Regions from separate parts of the Homo sapiens genome. Here all the other regions are linked to region 1. Evidence: promoter capture Hi-C in 16 types of primary human blood cells and fetal thymus (Javierre and others, 2016). All regions are on one chromosome and are shown on one strand. The core of a region is centred on a gene start or on the middle of the fragment in contact, and the rest is flanking DNA. Distances in the headings are between cores, read along the strand shown.

Region 1 (2,657 bases), core at 101-2,600:
CCGCAGTCACAAAACTTTCATCATGATTACGGACGCACCACCTAAAATGCATGCTCAGAAGTCAAAGTCCTATGAAAATACCCTCGATGAGCATTTGGTGAATTGCTGCGTTTTTAACCCTCTTACTCTGCTCCCCTCAGCTGCACGGCCCCTAAAATCACAAGCGTTCACCGCCCAGGCTCGGGGTCTTTGACTCAGCAGAGAAGAATGTGGCTGATGAGTTATCTATTAATCCAAAAAACCTCGGCTAGAAAGATATTTCACCAAGAACTTTTAACACGGAAAGGGAGGGGGCAGGGAATAGAGGTATCTTTTAACGAGAACTTTCCCCCGAGTTTCTTCCTTAAACTGCTCCCCCCCCGACCCTGAATCCATACACAATTTCCAGCCCCGGCCCTAAGTCCTGACCCTCCGAGTCCCGATTATCTGAGGTCACCCAGGAGTCAGCTCTCGGTTCCACTTATAAATCCCGGGCAAACAAAGCTGAGCATTATACTTACAAAAGTCTCCGAAAAGTCCTTGGAGTTACGCAATTTGGGGCCCGCAGACGCGCGTGGACACAAAAACACACGCTCCCGAGATCCACCCTCCCCGGGCCACACTGTGGGGCTGCGTCCGGGGCACGGGCCATGCCTGAACCTTCTTCCACCGCCGCGCCCCGGGCCCGCGCCCCGCCGGCCGCCCGCACTGGGTCCCGCGTCGCCCCCGCCACCACACCGAGCCGCCCAGTACCTCCTCCTCCTGAAGGTTGGCCTCGCTCGGGGTGTTCTCCTTCTCGGCTTTGCCGCCGTTGTTCATCTTCCCGGTCCTTCCTCGCCGGGCCGGGCAGGGCTGGGGCGCGGGGCTGGGCGAGGGCGCGCTAGCCCACTGGAGCCTTCCCCGGGCGCCGGGGCTCCCTCGGGCGGGCGCCGCGGGCTGTGGGGCTGGAGCTGGAGCCGGGGCAGTGGCTGTCGGGCTCGGGTTGGGCTGGGGCTCCCGCGGCGAGTCTGCGACGGCGGCGGCGGGCGACTCAGGAAGTGCAAGGGAGAGACGGGGCAGGGCGCGGGCCGGGAGCGGGGCACCGAGACAATCGGGCCCCGGGAGGGCGACCTGGAGAGGGAGGGCGGGAGCCAGGGGAGGAAGGAAGAAGGAAGGAAGGAAGGAAGCAAAGGATGGGGCGAGGACGCGCGTCCCAGGAGTAAGCGCGGAGAGTTGGGGCTGGGGGCTGCAGCCGCTGGAAGGAGGGGACGGGGGTGCCTAGAGAGGAGGAGGAGGAGGAAGAGGAGGAGGAGGAGCGGGGCGGAGGAGCGCGGGCCGCGGCTGGGACGCTGGGACCCGAGAGCCGCTGAGTACGCGCTCCAGGCAGGCTCTGGGAAGTCCGGGATGGAAGCAGCTCCCTTTCTCTCGCCTTCCTCCCTCCCCTCTCCCCTCCCTCCTCTCCGCGCCTCTCCTCCTCCCTCCGCCCTCCCTGGACGTGGGCTGCCGGCTGCAGCCCGGAGGGACGGGGCGCGGGACGGAGCCCCCCGCGGGAGGAGGGGCCGGCGGCCGGATGGCGCGCGCCGGGGAGGGGCAGCGGGCCGCGGGCGGAAGCGGCGACCCCAGCCCCCGACTCAGCGGCTGGTCGGAGGGCGAGGGCCCGGGAGGCCGAGGGCAGGGAGGTCGGGTCCCGCCGTTCCCTTGGCCCCCGGGGGCCCCGGCGTCTGCGCGCCCCGGGACTTCGGGGACCCTGCCCCGCCGGGGCCTGGACCGGGACCTGGGATGTGTGCGACTTTTAGTTTGCCGGCTTTTACCGAGGGATTTGCACCCCTGGCCCTAAGCCCACCCTTCCCGAGCCAGACCCGGTTCTTCCTCTGCTGCTTGAATGACAGCATGAGAACTCGAGGGACACCGGGGACAGCCCACTCCGGGCCGGCTTTTTCAGGACAGGGCTTCAAACCCATCTCCAGCGCGGGTCCTGCGACGCGCCCGGAGCCTTCCCCGCTTCGCTTCCTGAGCGTCCCGCGGCCCCCCGACTCCTCTCCCAACTCTCACCAGACTGTTCTGGGATTGTTTACCTGGCCTCTCCCTCACCCTTCAGAAAGCTCCTTCCTGGAAGAAAAAAAAAAATCCTGCCCTATTTATCTTTTTAATCCCACGGCTATTTAAACGGGCTAAGGGGTATATAGCAGGCACTCAATAAATATTTGTTGGCAAAGTGAATATTCCTTATTGCAGGCAGAGCTGGGGGTCCGTACGGAGGAACTTCAGAGGCTGGAAGCACGCTTGAAAAAGAAAGGGGGCCTGGGCTTTGCACCAGCTTCAGGATTGCGTACTTGTTTCCTCATCCGTGAAATGGGAGCAGCTGAATGTGTCTCCTCGAGTTTTCGAGGTGATTATAGGTTGATAGAGCTATATACAGCACCCAGCATTTATTCTTGCTTCGTTTAGGTTTACAATACATGGAAGCTAACATTATTATTAAGAAAACTTCTATTTTTCCAGGGCCTTAGAAAGCGTTTCCAATACTCGATCATTTAAGCTTATGGTTTTTTGGTTTTTTTTTTTTTTAGAAAAATGAGGGTCTCACTTTGTTGCTCAGGCTGAGCTCGAGCTCCTGGCCTCAAGTGATCCTCCTGCTTTTGGCCTCCCAAACTGATGGGATTACAACGTGGAGCCACCGTGTTAAACTCTTAGATTTG
Region 2 (2,657 bases), core at 59-2,558, 220 kb before region 1:
TGGACCCAAATAGTAATTGCAGCAAAGATTGAATTTTCCGTTTTAAGTGAAACACGTTTTATTTTTGTTCTTTGGAAGACCTCTAAGAATACAAGTCTGGAAATATCAATTTTTAAAAAATTGAACTACTCAAGAAAGAAACTCAAAAACTAAAATTGGGGCTGAGTGCAGTGGCTCACACCTATAGTCCCTGTACTTTCTGATGCTGAGGTGGGAAGATCGCTTGAGCCCAGGAGTTCAAGACCAGCCCTGGCAACATAGTGAGACCCTTTGTCTACAAAAAATTGAAAACATTAGCTAGACGTGGTGGCAATGCACCAGTGGTCCCAGTTACTCCAGAGGCTGAGGTGGGAGGATTGCTTGAGCCTGGGAGGTTGAGGCTGCAGTGAGCTGCACTCCAGTCTGGGTGGAGTCTCTTAAAAACAAAACTAAAACTAAAATTGGGTCCAGTGGACCTATGGTGGAGGACCCTATGGTGGTATACTGAGTGTGTTAAGGAAATGAAACTCCTTTATTGTTTAAATTTTTTTTTTTTTTGGTGAGGTAATTTGGAGTTAACTGAAAAATCTTTATTTTATCTATCTTTAAGGCTTTGGGGGACCAGATACTATTTGTAAATCGTCCCGATAAGAAGAAAATACTTTTCTTCAATGATAAGAGCTGTCAGTTTTCTGTGGATGAAGGTGAGCTTTTCTGTATTATACTTTAGTTTGCAAGTATATTACAATTTTAGGGTGGTAAAATTAATATTTATAATACAATTATAATTTAAATCTTATATTGCTTTTTTAGCATTATCATTTCTTAGAACACAGCCAGTGGCCCCTGTGTCTAACATATTGTTGCTTAGAATGCAATTTGAAATATGTGATTTGAAAGATTTTAGGTTAATTATACTTACAATCGCAGTTCAGGATTTCTTAATGTTTATAGCTCAACTGAACCAAACGGGTTTATTTCTTTATCTTTAGACTTTTACAAATGTAAGTTCATATCCTGATACAAAAGCTTGATACAGGATGGGAAAAAGAATAAACTTTTATTGGTGAATAGTGTTCTCTTATCTTATGAATCTTTCAGTTATCAAATTGAATAAGGAAGGAGATGATGTTTTTCTTTCTGGAAATTGTGGAGTTGGATGCTAAGCTGTATATTGAATCTCTTACTAAGTATATGATACGTATGTTTGGACTTTAGTTTTAAATTTTTGTCAATAATTTGTCATTAAACAAGGGTTTAGTGATGAAAAATGTATTATTCAAGTTTACCAATTGCCATTTTAGCAAGTGTTGGTGGTATTTTACTGTAAATTTGTATTACTTTTGAAGTTTTATAAAATGGCAGGAAAATAATTGGACATCAATTTAATTGATTTTGTGATTTGTGCAGTAACCTTAAGTTTTCCTTTTGTTATCTGTCTATAGATATCCAGGCTTGTGGTTCTGGTAGATAGGGCTTTAGTTTCCCTGAACTTGTTTTAGGAAATTGTATTTTTGTGAAAATCCCAATTGAGTATCTTACATGTAATTGGTTCACAATAAATGTTAATTAAATAAAAATGTGCAGAATATTCCAGTTCTTTGATGTTGTTGTTTCTAATAAGCTTTTATATAACAAAGCAAGTATGTAGTGAACTTATGCTATCCATTGTAGTGATAGGTGCCTGTTGAACAAAGACTTCAGTACTGCCTGGCGATTTTTATATTGCTTTCAGTCTTCGTTACTTGCAATGTTGCCTTTATGCTAATTTTTATATTTCTTGCTTTTGAAAACATTTAAGGCTGGGCATGGTGGCTCATGCCTCTAATCCTAGCACTTTCAGAGGCCAAGGTGGGAGGATCGCTTCAGGCTAGGAGTTCAAGACCAGCCTGGGCAAAAAAGTGAGACCCTATCTCTATTAAAAACTGAAAAATTAGCCAGGCTTGGTGGCGCATGCCTGTGGTCTCAGCTACTCACAAGGCTGAGACAAGAGTATAGCTTGAACTCAGGAGTTAGAGGTTACGGTGAGCTGATTGTGCCACCGCACTCCAGCCTGGGTGACAGAGTGAGACTCTGCCTTTAAAAAAGAAAGTTAAAAACCATTTAAGATATTTCTGAGCTCAAAAAAAAAAAAATCTAAGAAATAACCGATTCCTTTATTCTTAGGTATAATAACAATCATTTTGAAAAATATTTGCAGTACTTAAAAAAACCTATCACAAGTATTACAAGTTCAGATAGAGAGTAAGAGCCTATACTAAAAGGCAGATGTGCCTTTCCCTTCTCTAGCTGCAGTCCCTTTCTTTTGTGGCAGCTGCTTAACTAGTTTTATTTTGGATTCTTCAGTTTTTTCCCAATTGCTAATAATATGCTTATGCTATTGTTTCTTGATTTTTTTTCAACTTTAAACATTGTGTGACTTACTGTCATTTCTCTTTCCTATACCTATCTCTCTCCTCCCAATATAGTTGTATCTCTAGTTAAGTTTTAGTTTCTCCGTCATTTACTTTGATGCCTTCAACAAACATATTTAAATGTTCTCAGTGGGAATTTTAGTGTTAAGTCTGCTCTGCAGATGGCAGCATAGTGTAGCATGTCTGTTGTGTAAGCAGATGTTTAACTTGAGGCGGGTGGTTGATAGGAAAGAGATTGCAGTAGCTCTGTAAGAGTGTACATGA
Region 3 (2,657 bases), core at 90-2,589, 180 kb after region 1:
TAAATTTTTAATATTTCAGCCATTAAAATACAGCATTGTGTAGAATTAGTTGAAATTTTATTAACATGTTGTCCACAATTAGTTCACCAAAATCAATGAATTTTACCTTGTGAACATTATTCAAATACTTTCCAAATGCAAATTGTGATGCGTGCCCCAAACTTTGTAAATGTCCTGTTAAGATGGATTACGAATAGTTCATACAGAAATTGAAGAACTTCTTCTGTGGGTTATCCTTGGGTGGCCTCTACTGAACTTGTAATTTATCAAAGAAGGGCCAAATAGGTGTCAATGAAAAGAGTCAAACTCTGTAAAATATTTGAAGGGATTTATTCTGAACCAAATATGAGTGACCATGGCCCGTGACACAGCCCTCAGGAGGTCCTGAGAACATGTGCCCAAGGTGGTGGGGGAGCAGTTTGGTTTTATACATTTTAGGAAGGCATGAGACATCAATCAAATACATTCAAGAAATACATTAGTTTAGTGCAGAAAGGCGGGACAACTCAAAGCAGGTGCTCTCAGGCTATAGGTAAATTTAAACGTTTTCTGATTGACAATTGGTGGAGTTTGTCTAAAGACCTGAGATCGATAGAAATGAAATATTCAGGTTAGAATAAAAAATTGTGGAGATCAGGGTTCTTCTGAAGTCTTATAGTGGCTGCCCTTAGACACAATAGATGACAAGTGTTTCCTATTTAGATGTTTAAAAGGTGCTGGAGTTTTAATTAATCTCTTCAGGATTGAGAGGACCTGGAAGAAAAAAATCTAGCTATGTTAACAGAGATTCTTTACAGATGCAAAATTTCCCCCAGAAAGAACATCTTTGCCAGGCCATATCAAGATATGGCAAAGAAACATGTTTTGGGGTAAAATATTTTGATTTTCTTCCTTGTCCTGTGAAGTTATGCCAGAGTCAGGTTGGAAAGTAAGTCATGATAGATAGTGTTAAATAAAAGCCATCTGATGAGAATTTGTGGTTTGTAGGGCATGACTCTCCAGGCCCCTTAGACAGGAATTTGGGCAAGATTAAAAAAAAAAAAATCAAAGCTTAGTCTTCCTAGGTATCCAAGTCAGACTGTCTGTATTTGAATCCAGGCTGTACTACTCACCAAAAAACCTTGGGCTAGTTATTATATTTGTTTCCCTGACAGGATTTCTCCACAGGAAAATCAGGTATTAGTGGTATCTAATCATAAGGTTTTTGTGGGCTTTTAGGAAGACAATCCATTTAAAGCAGCTAGGAAAATGCCTAGCACACAGTAGGTAACCATTATTTTCTTATCTCTATGATTAATATAGAATATTAGTAACTATTGTTAAGCTGCTTCTGTTGAAAGACCCTTTTCCTGACTTGTATTAATCAGGACTTTCTAGAGGGACAGAACTAATAGGATAGATATATATATGAAAGAGATTTTATTAAGGAGAATTGACTCACACAATCACCAGGTAAAGTCCCACGATAGGTTGTCTGCATGCTGAGGGGCAAGGAAGGTAGTGGTGGATCAGTCCGAGTCCCAAAACCTCAAAAGTAGGGAAGCCGACAGTGCAGCCTTCAGTCTGTGGCCAAAGGCCCGAGAGCCCCTGGCAAACCACTGGTGTAAGTCCAAGAGTCCAAAAGCTTAAGAACTTGGAGTCTGATGTTCGAGGGCAGGAAGCAGCCAGCACGGGAGAAAGATGAAGTCCAGAAGACTCAGCAAGTCTGCTCTTCCATCTTCTCCTGCCTGCTTTATTCAGCTGGCAGCTGATTAGATGGTGCTTACCCAGAGTAGGGGTGAGTCTGCCTCTCCCGGTCCACTGACTCAAATGTCCATCTCCTTTGGCAACACCCTCACAGACGCACCCACGAACAATACTTTGCATCCTTCAATCCAATCAAGTTGACTCTCAATATTAACCATCACAAGTATCGTCCTGTGTACTTGTGCTCACAGAGTAAGGGCTAAGGTTGAGTCAAGGTCAAGGTCCAGTCAAGGCTTTCCTCTTCATACGGTTTGACTGTGTCCCCAACCAAATCTCATCTTGAATTGTAGCTCCCATAATTCCTACATGTCAAGGGAGGGACCCGGTGGGAGGTAATTGAATCATGGGGGTGGGTCTTTCCCATGCTGTTCTCCTGATAGTGAATAAGTCTCACGAGATCTGATGGTTTTATAATGAGGAGTTCCCCTGCACATGCTCTCTTGCCTGCCACCATGTAAGACACCCCTCGCTCTTCCACCATGATTATGAGGCCTCCCCAGCATGTGGAACTGTGAGTCAATTAAACCTCTTTCCATTATAAATTACCCAGTCTCGGGTATGTCTTTACTAGCAGCATGAAAACAGACTAATACACCTTTCCTGTGAAACTTCCCTCTGTTTCTCAGACAAAGTGAGTATCCTCTCTGGGTTCCCTGGGCATTCCTCCACACTGAATTGGAATTAACTGTTTAGCTGGGCTCCCTCTCTAGACTGTAGGTACTCTGAAGACAGGAACTCTGTTATTCTCCTCTGAACCCCATAACAGTTTGTTGAATAAATACATGAATAAAAAAAGAGCAGAGGCTCTCCTGAGGGACAGCATAGAAGAGGTTACTGAAAACATGGAAGAGGTTGGGATGAGAATAAAAAGGGTCTCACAAATTTAGGGAAAGACTGATTGTTCTGTAGCC
Region 4 (2,657 bases), core at 55-2,554, 150 kb before region 1:
CATGAGTCCAGACCCTTCACTTCTGCACTTCACTGCCTCTCTCCATGTTCATTAGCTCCACCTACTGATGATAAAGACATATTCTCTATGTAAAGACATATTCTCTATGTCTTTCTCATTCCCATCCCTACTTCTATTACCCAAATGCGGGTTCTCAGCCAGACTGACTTTAACTTCCACCGTCTCCCCACTCCACTATTTCTCTGATACAAACTGCAGAAGCAACAAGTTTTCTGCAAAAAAGCAAGCAGACCCCAAAATAAATATGCCAAGGAAATTCCAAAAGCAAGCTGGTCATGATTCAACTGGCCCAGAGTCACTTTTCCATTTAATGATTTTCTGCTGTTCTGACCAGTCACTGCTTTGATGGTTGTCTTCTTCCTTTGCTGCCCACTTCTTCGAGGCTAAGAAATCATGCGATGCAATCCAGGATTTTAAAAGGATCTGCTTTCTAATCAGAGTTGAAGGGAACCCTGAGCATGAGTGGGAAGAAAACTGTTCCTCTGGGAACTTAAGCCACTACTATTACCTACTCTTACTCATCACATGGGGACATTTTCATTCCTCCTCCTTCCTATGACCTGCAGCTGCTGGGATGAGGGTTACCCAGAGTTTCCCCAGGAAAGTCTATTCCCTGGCATTAGCAGAATATTCCAAGTGTCTGCCAGCCTCTCTGCGAGCCTGGATTTTGACAACTGCAATCAAGTCTGGATGTTTAACAGGAGCTGTATTTTCAAAACGTAATGGTTTTACATCTATGAACAACATAAGAAAATCTGCTCAGTCCCACTCTGCTAGAGACCTGGGTAAGCTTCATGAGAGCAGCATACTGTTCTGTTAGATTCACTACTGTGCCCGCCACAAAGGAGGTCCACAAAGGAGAAAGAGTAGAAAAGGAAGGAAAATAAATTTCTTCTAACATAAAAAAAGTGTTTCAGGAAGTATATCTTCAGGGCAACTTGAATCTATGATTCAGGTGGAAATTAATTTTTTAAAAATAAAAAATTTATAAACAAACAAAAACAGTGTTTTAGTATAACTTTCATTTGTCACTCACACACCTCTTCTGGCATACATCTGTTATTTGGTGAGGGAGGAAAGGGAGCAAGGGAGAAGGATGGTTATGACAGCAAGGGGAGGCAGAGGTGTCTTTTCAATGAAATTGAAATTGCTGCTTGGGTACATCTCTATCTAGTCCATAAAAAGAGATGATCTCGCCAGGCGCGGTGGCTCACGCTTATAGTCCCAGCACTTTGGGAGGCCGAGGCGGGCGGATCACCTGAGGTCGGGAGTTCGAGACCAGCCTGGCCAACATGGAGAAACCCCGTCTCCACTAAAACTACAAAATTAGCTGGGCGTGGTGGCACATGCCTATAATCCTAGCTACTAGGGAGGCTGAGGCAGGAGAATGGCTTGAACCTGGGAGGCGGAGGTTGCGGTGAGCCGAGATCGTGCCATTGCACTCCAGCCTGGGCAACAAGAGTGAAACTCCATCTCAAAAAAAAAAAAAAAAGAGAGAGATGATCTCTTATTGAACTATAAGGTCCCTGAGTGCAGGGCCTGTGTCTGTTGTGCTTACTGCTGTATCTCCAGTACCTAGCATAGCGCATGTTACATAGCAGACATTCATTCATTCATTATTTATTGATTTATTTTAGAGACAAGGTCTCACTATGTTGCCCAGGCTGGAGTGCAGCAGCTGTTCACAGGTGTGATCATCAATGTGCACTACAACTTCAACTCCTGAGCCCATGTGATCCTCTCTCCTCAGCCTTCCAGATAACCTTGCCAAGCTTTCAGAAATGAACATTTTTAAGGATCTCAATACACCTAACTGTGCTGTTTGAATGTATAATCCCCAAAGTAGCAACATTTGTACCAAATTTTAATGTAACAACACTGGGAATCATCCTTAAAAACAGAACAGGGCACATGCTTGTAATCCCAGCTACTACAGAGGCTGAGGTGGGAGGATCACCTGAAGCCAGGAGTTCAAGGCCAGCCTAGGCAAACATAGTGACACCCTATATCTAAAGAAATGTTATTAAAGTCTATTATTTTAATGTAGATTTCTTTGATAATTAATGAAGCTGATCTAATGAACTTTCCATTTCTTAGCAGGGACTCTTAGTTGGGACAGGTGCTGCCTAAAAGAGTCTTCATCAAGGCATGGAGCACTCTTGAAAATCCAGTAAAGACCAGATATCCTTTCTTACACCTCCCAAAACAGGCTATGTGTACCCTGAACACTGCACCTACTGCTTATACGAAAAATTTTCTTTTTCTGTGTCTATGTCCTTCACAAAACTGTTATCTCCTATCCTTAGCACATATGTCTGGCACACAGAACATATTCAAGAAAAGTTAGTTAAAATTAACGATATTACAAAGTGCCTACAACTAACTTAAAACTAGCAAGAGGATATAAACTTCAGAATTATGTAATCCACCCAATGATTTACAGTTTAGCACATTTCCTTGACTTTTAAGAAAATGTCAGTTTTCTTAAATCTGCAAAGGTTCCAGTCCTTGACGAAAAAAGGTGGAAACTACTAACTTGTCATAGTTATCAGTTTTTTTTTTTTTTTTTTTTTTTTTTTTTTTTTTTTTTGAGACGGAGTCTCGCTCTGTCGCCCAGGCCGGACTGCGGACTGCAG
Region 5 (2,657 bases), core at 53-2,552, 130 kb before region 1:
AGCGGAAGACCACCAGGTCTTTCCCATACACTGAATAATGATTGGCTTCATCAGTTGCACAAGCATTGTCTATAACTTCAACTGAACACTTGCTCTACCTTACACACGGCAGCTCCTTACAGGCCTGTTTCCTCTACTATGTGTAAACACTCCAAGAGCAGAACTGTACCTTATTCAGCTTTTTAATCTCTCACCTCCCCTCAAATGTTTGCTAAACTCAAGTGAGAAAATTAGAACAGGAACTCACCATAATTTCCTGCACAGAACTGTTAATGTTTGACCAGTTTGATCTCCTTGACCTTCTGAGGGCTATTTAATTAAAAGACAGAAAGACACCCCTCCACCTTCAGCCACTAATTAAACTATTTTGTTTAAGTAGAGATACTGCTGCTCCTCCACTGTATCTCAGTATAGCTAGGGTCCTAGTGGCTACACGAAGCACAGAATGAAAAGAAGGATAAGGGACCTGAGTTTGCACAGATTACATTATACTTACCCAGAGATTTAACTCTCTAAGCGACCATCATTTCTGCCAATGTTTTCCAAAATGAAAAGAGCTTTGGTTACATGGTATTTCACACACACACACACACACACACACACACACACACACACACACACACACGGGGTCTTGGCCTATATATCTATTGATAAACAAAAAAAATAAGGTCTAGAGCTGAGAATGAAAGCAGGTATCAGAGCAGGATGTAATGTCAAATCCCATTCATACAATATCTATGTGTATATCTGTATAGCTATTCATCCAAAATGTTAAAATACTTATCTCTGGGTGGGTAACATAATTTTCAGCATTCAATTTTTAAAACATACAGATTGAAATAAGTTATATTATTAAAAAAATCAATTCACATGAGGAAAACTCATGTGTGTCTGTGTGTGTGTGTGTGTGTATTTAGAGATGGAGTCAAGCTATGTTGGCCAGGCTGGAGTGCAGTGACCATTCACAGACAAGATACACTATAGCCTTAGATTCCCGGGCTCAACTCCTTCTCTTGCTTTAGCCTCCTGAGTAGCTGGGACTACAGGCGTATGCCACTATACCTGGTTTTATATACACGTATTATAAAAACTATGTTTTTGGAATGCCTTAAATCTTTGTATTTAAAAAATTTTATAAATGCCTTACATCTTTGTATTAAAAAATTTTTGTTTAATTTCCACATTTCTTGAAATAAGCTTGTACCACATTTGGAACTGGTATTGTGGTGGGAGAGAATTGGGCATTTGTGAAAGATACTTGGGTAGAGTCTCCCAAGGAGGTACTATATGAACGGCTGGTATGTTATCCAGCTCATCATACAACCAGTTACTCGTGGGCTAGTCACTACAGAATACACAGCAGAAATAAAAGACCCATTTTAAAGGAGAGGCTGACACAAAAGCTTGCAGGTGTTTTTTCTTTTTTGAGATACAGTTTCACTCACTCTGTCCCCCAGGCTGGAGTACAGTGGCACGATCTCAGCTCACTGCAACCTCTCCCTCCTGGGTTCAGGCAATTCTCCTGCCTCAGCTTCCTGAGGAGCTGGAATTACAGGTGCCCCACCCTCCACCACAGCCGGCTAATTTTTGTATTCTTAGTAATGATTGGGTTTCACCATATTGGCCAGGCTGGTCTTGAACTACTGACCTCAAGTAATCCGCCCTCCTCGGCCTCCCAAAGTGCTGCAATTACAGGCGTGAGCCACTGTGCCTGGCCAAAAAATGTTAATTTTAAATTATTAGGACCAGAAGTTTTTAAACTTTGGTTTTAGGACACCTTTACACACGTAAAAACGATCAAGCCTAAAAGAACTTTTGTGTGGTTTTGTACCATGTTATAAACTTTTGAAGTTAAAAAAGGTAAGGGGCCAGGTACGGTGCCTAAGGCCTATAATGGCAATACTTTGGGAGGCTGAGGTGGGAGGATTGCTTGAGCTCAAGACCAGCCTGGGCAACAAAGCGAGGCCCCATCTCTACAAAAAAATTAGAAAATTAGACAGGCAAGGTGGTGCGTGCCTGTAGTACCAGCTACTCAGGAGGCTGAGGCAGGAGGATCACTTAAGCTCAGGAGCTGGAGGCTGCAGTGAGCTGTGATGGCATCACTGCACTCTAGCCTGAAGAACAAAGTAAGACCCCCATCTCTTAAAAAAGAAAAAAAGTTTATTAATTCATGTTTTTTAAAATATTTTAGTGAAATCTACATATTTAGAAAAAAAGATAAAACTTTAGATCTACATATTTGCAAATCTCTTTAGTATCTAGTTTAATAGAAGACAACTGGTTTCTTATACCTGCTTCAAATTAAATCTATTGTAACATATTGTATTGGCTGTAGTATATGAAAAAAATATGGTCTCACAGAGACATGCATCTAGCTGGTCAAAGGAGTAATATTTCAATACCCTTTACAGGTAACTGGATATTCTTCTCTGCTATTACACCAACACTTATTAAGGGGTGGTTATTAAAGATGTCTTGGATTATGGAATCTGAAACCTTATCAATGAGCTTTCCTATTATGTTCCATTAAAATCCATTGTCCTGGCCTGGTGTGGTGGCTCACACCTGCTATCCCAGCACTTTGGGAGGCTAAGGCAGGAGGATGGCTTGACACCAGGAGCTTGATACCAGCCTGGGCAACAAAGCAAGACCCCATC

What was found. The method cuts DNA at HindIII sites, captures the fragments that hold promoters and counts their contacts. A CHiCAGO score of 5 or more calls a contact.
Region 2: a fragment that was not itself captured here is called in contact with the fragment with the promoter of RBPMS in region 1 in 2 of 17 cell types (endothelial precursors and megakaryocytes); the score reaches 11.1 in endothelial precursors.
Region 3: a fragment that was not itself captured here is called in contact with the fragment with the promoter of RBPMS in region 1 in 3 of 17 cell types (endothelial precursors, M1 macrophages and M2 macrophages); the score reaches 7.3 in endothelial precursors.
Region 4: a fragment that was not itself captured here is called in contact with the fragment with the promoter of RBPMS in region 1 in 1 of 17 cell types (endothelial precursors); the score reaches 11.3 in endothelial precursors.
Region 5: a contact is called between a fragment that was not itself captured here and the fragment with the promoter of RBPMS in region 1, in 1 of 17 cell types (endothelial precursors). The highest score is 9.3, in endothelial precursors.

The regions. Positions count from the first base shown.
Region 1 is chr8:30,383,234-30,385,890 of GRCh38, reverse strand. RBPMS (RNA binding protein, mRNA processing factor) reads right to left here and starts at 1,350. Exons shown (of 9, transcript NM_001008710.3): 1 at 733-1,350. The coding sequence starts at 798. RBPMS-AS1 (RBPMS antisense RNA 1) reads left to right here and starts at 490. Exons shown (of 3, transcript NR_046205.1): 1 at 490-747; 2 at 2,194-2,347. RefSeq lists enhancers at 221-892, 893-1,563. The HindIII fragment of the contact is 8,815 bases long and covers 1-2,499 here.
Region 2 is chr8:30,605,083-30,607,739 of GRCh38, reverse strand. GTF2E2 (general transcription factor IIE subunit 2) reads left to right here. Exons shown (of 8, transcript NM_002095.6): 6 at 590-683. Among named protein-coding and RNA genes, the nearest start is that of SMIM18, 32 kb to the left of the region's middle. The HindIII fragment of the contact is 595 bases long and covers 1,011-1,605 here.
Region 3 is chr8:30,198,930-30,201,586 of GRCh38, reverse strand. No RefSeq gene overlaps it. Among named protein-coding and RNA genes, the nearest start is that of DCTN6-DT, 44 kb to the right of the region's middle. The HindIII fragment of the contact is 574 bases long and covers 1,053-1,626 here.
Region 4 is chr8:30,534,985-30,537,641 of GRCh38, reverse strand. All of the region lies in intron 5 of RBPMS (RNA binding protein, mRNA processing factor), which reads right to left. Among named protein-coding and RNA genes, the nearest start is that of SMIM18, 100 kb to the left of the region's middle. The HindIII fragment of the contact is 982 bases long and covers 814-1,795 here.
Region 5 is chr8:30,515,158-30,517,814 of GRCh38, reverse strand. The region is part of intron 5 of RBPMS (RNA binding protein, mRNA processing factor); the gene reads right to left. Among named protein-coding and RNA genes, the nearest start is that of SMIM18, 120 kb to the left of the region's middle. The HindIII fragment of the contact is 206 bases long and covers 1,200-1,405 here.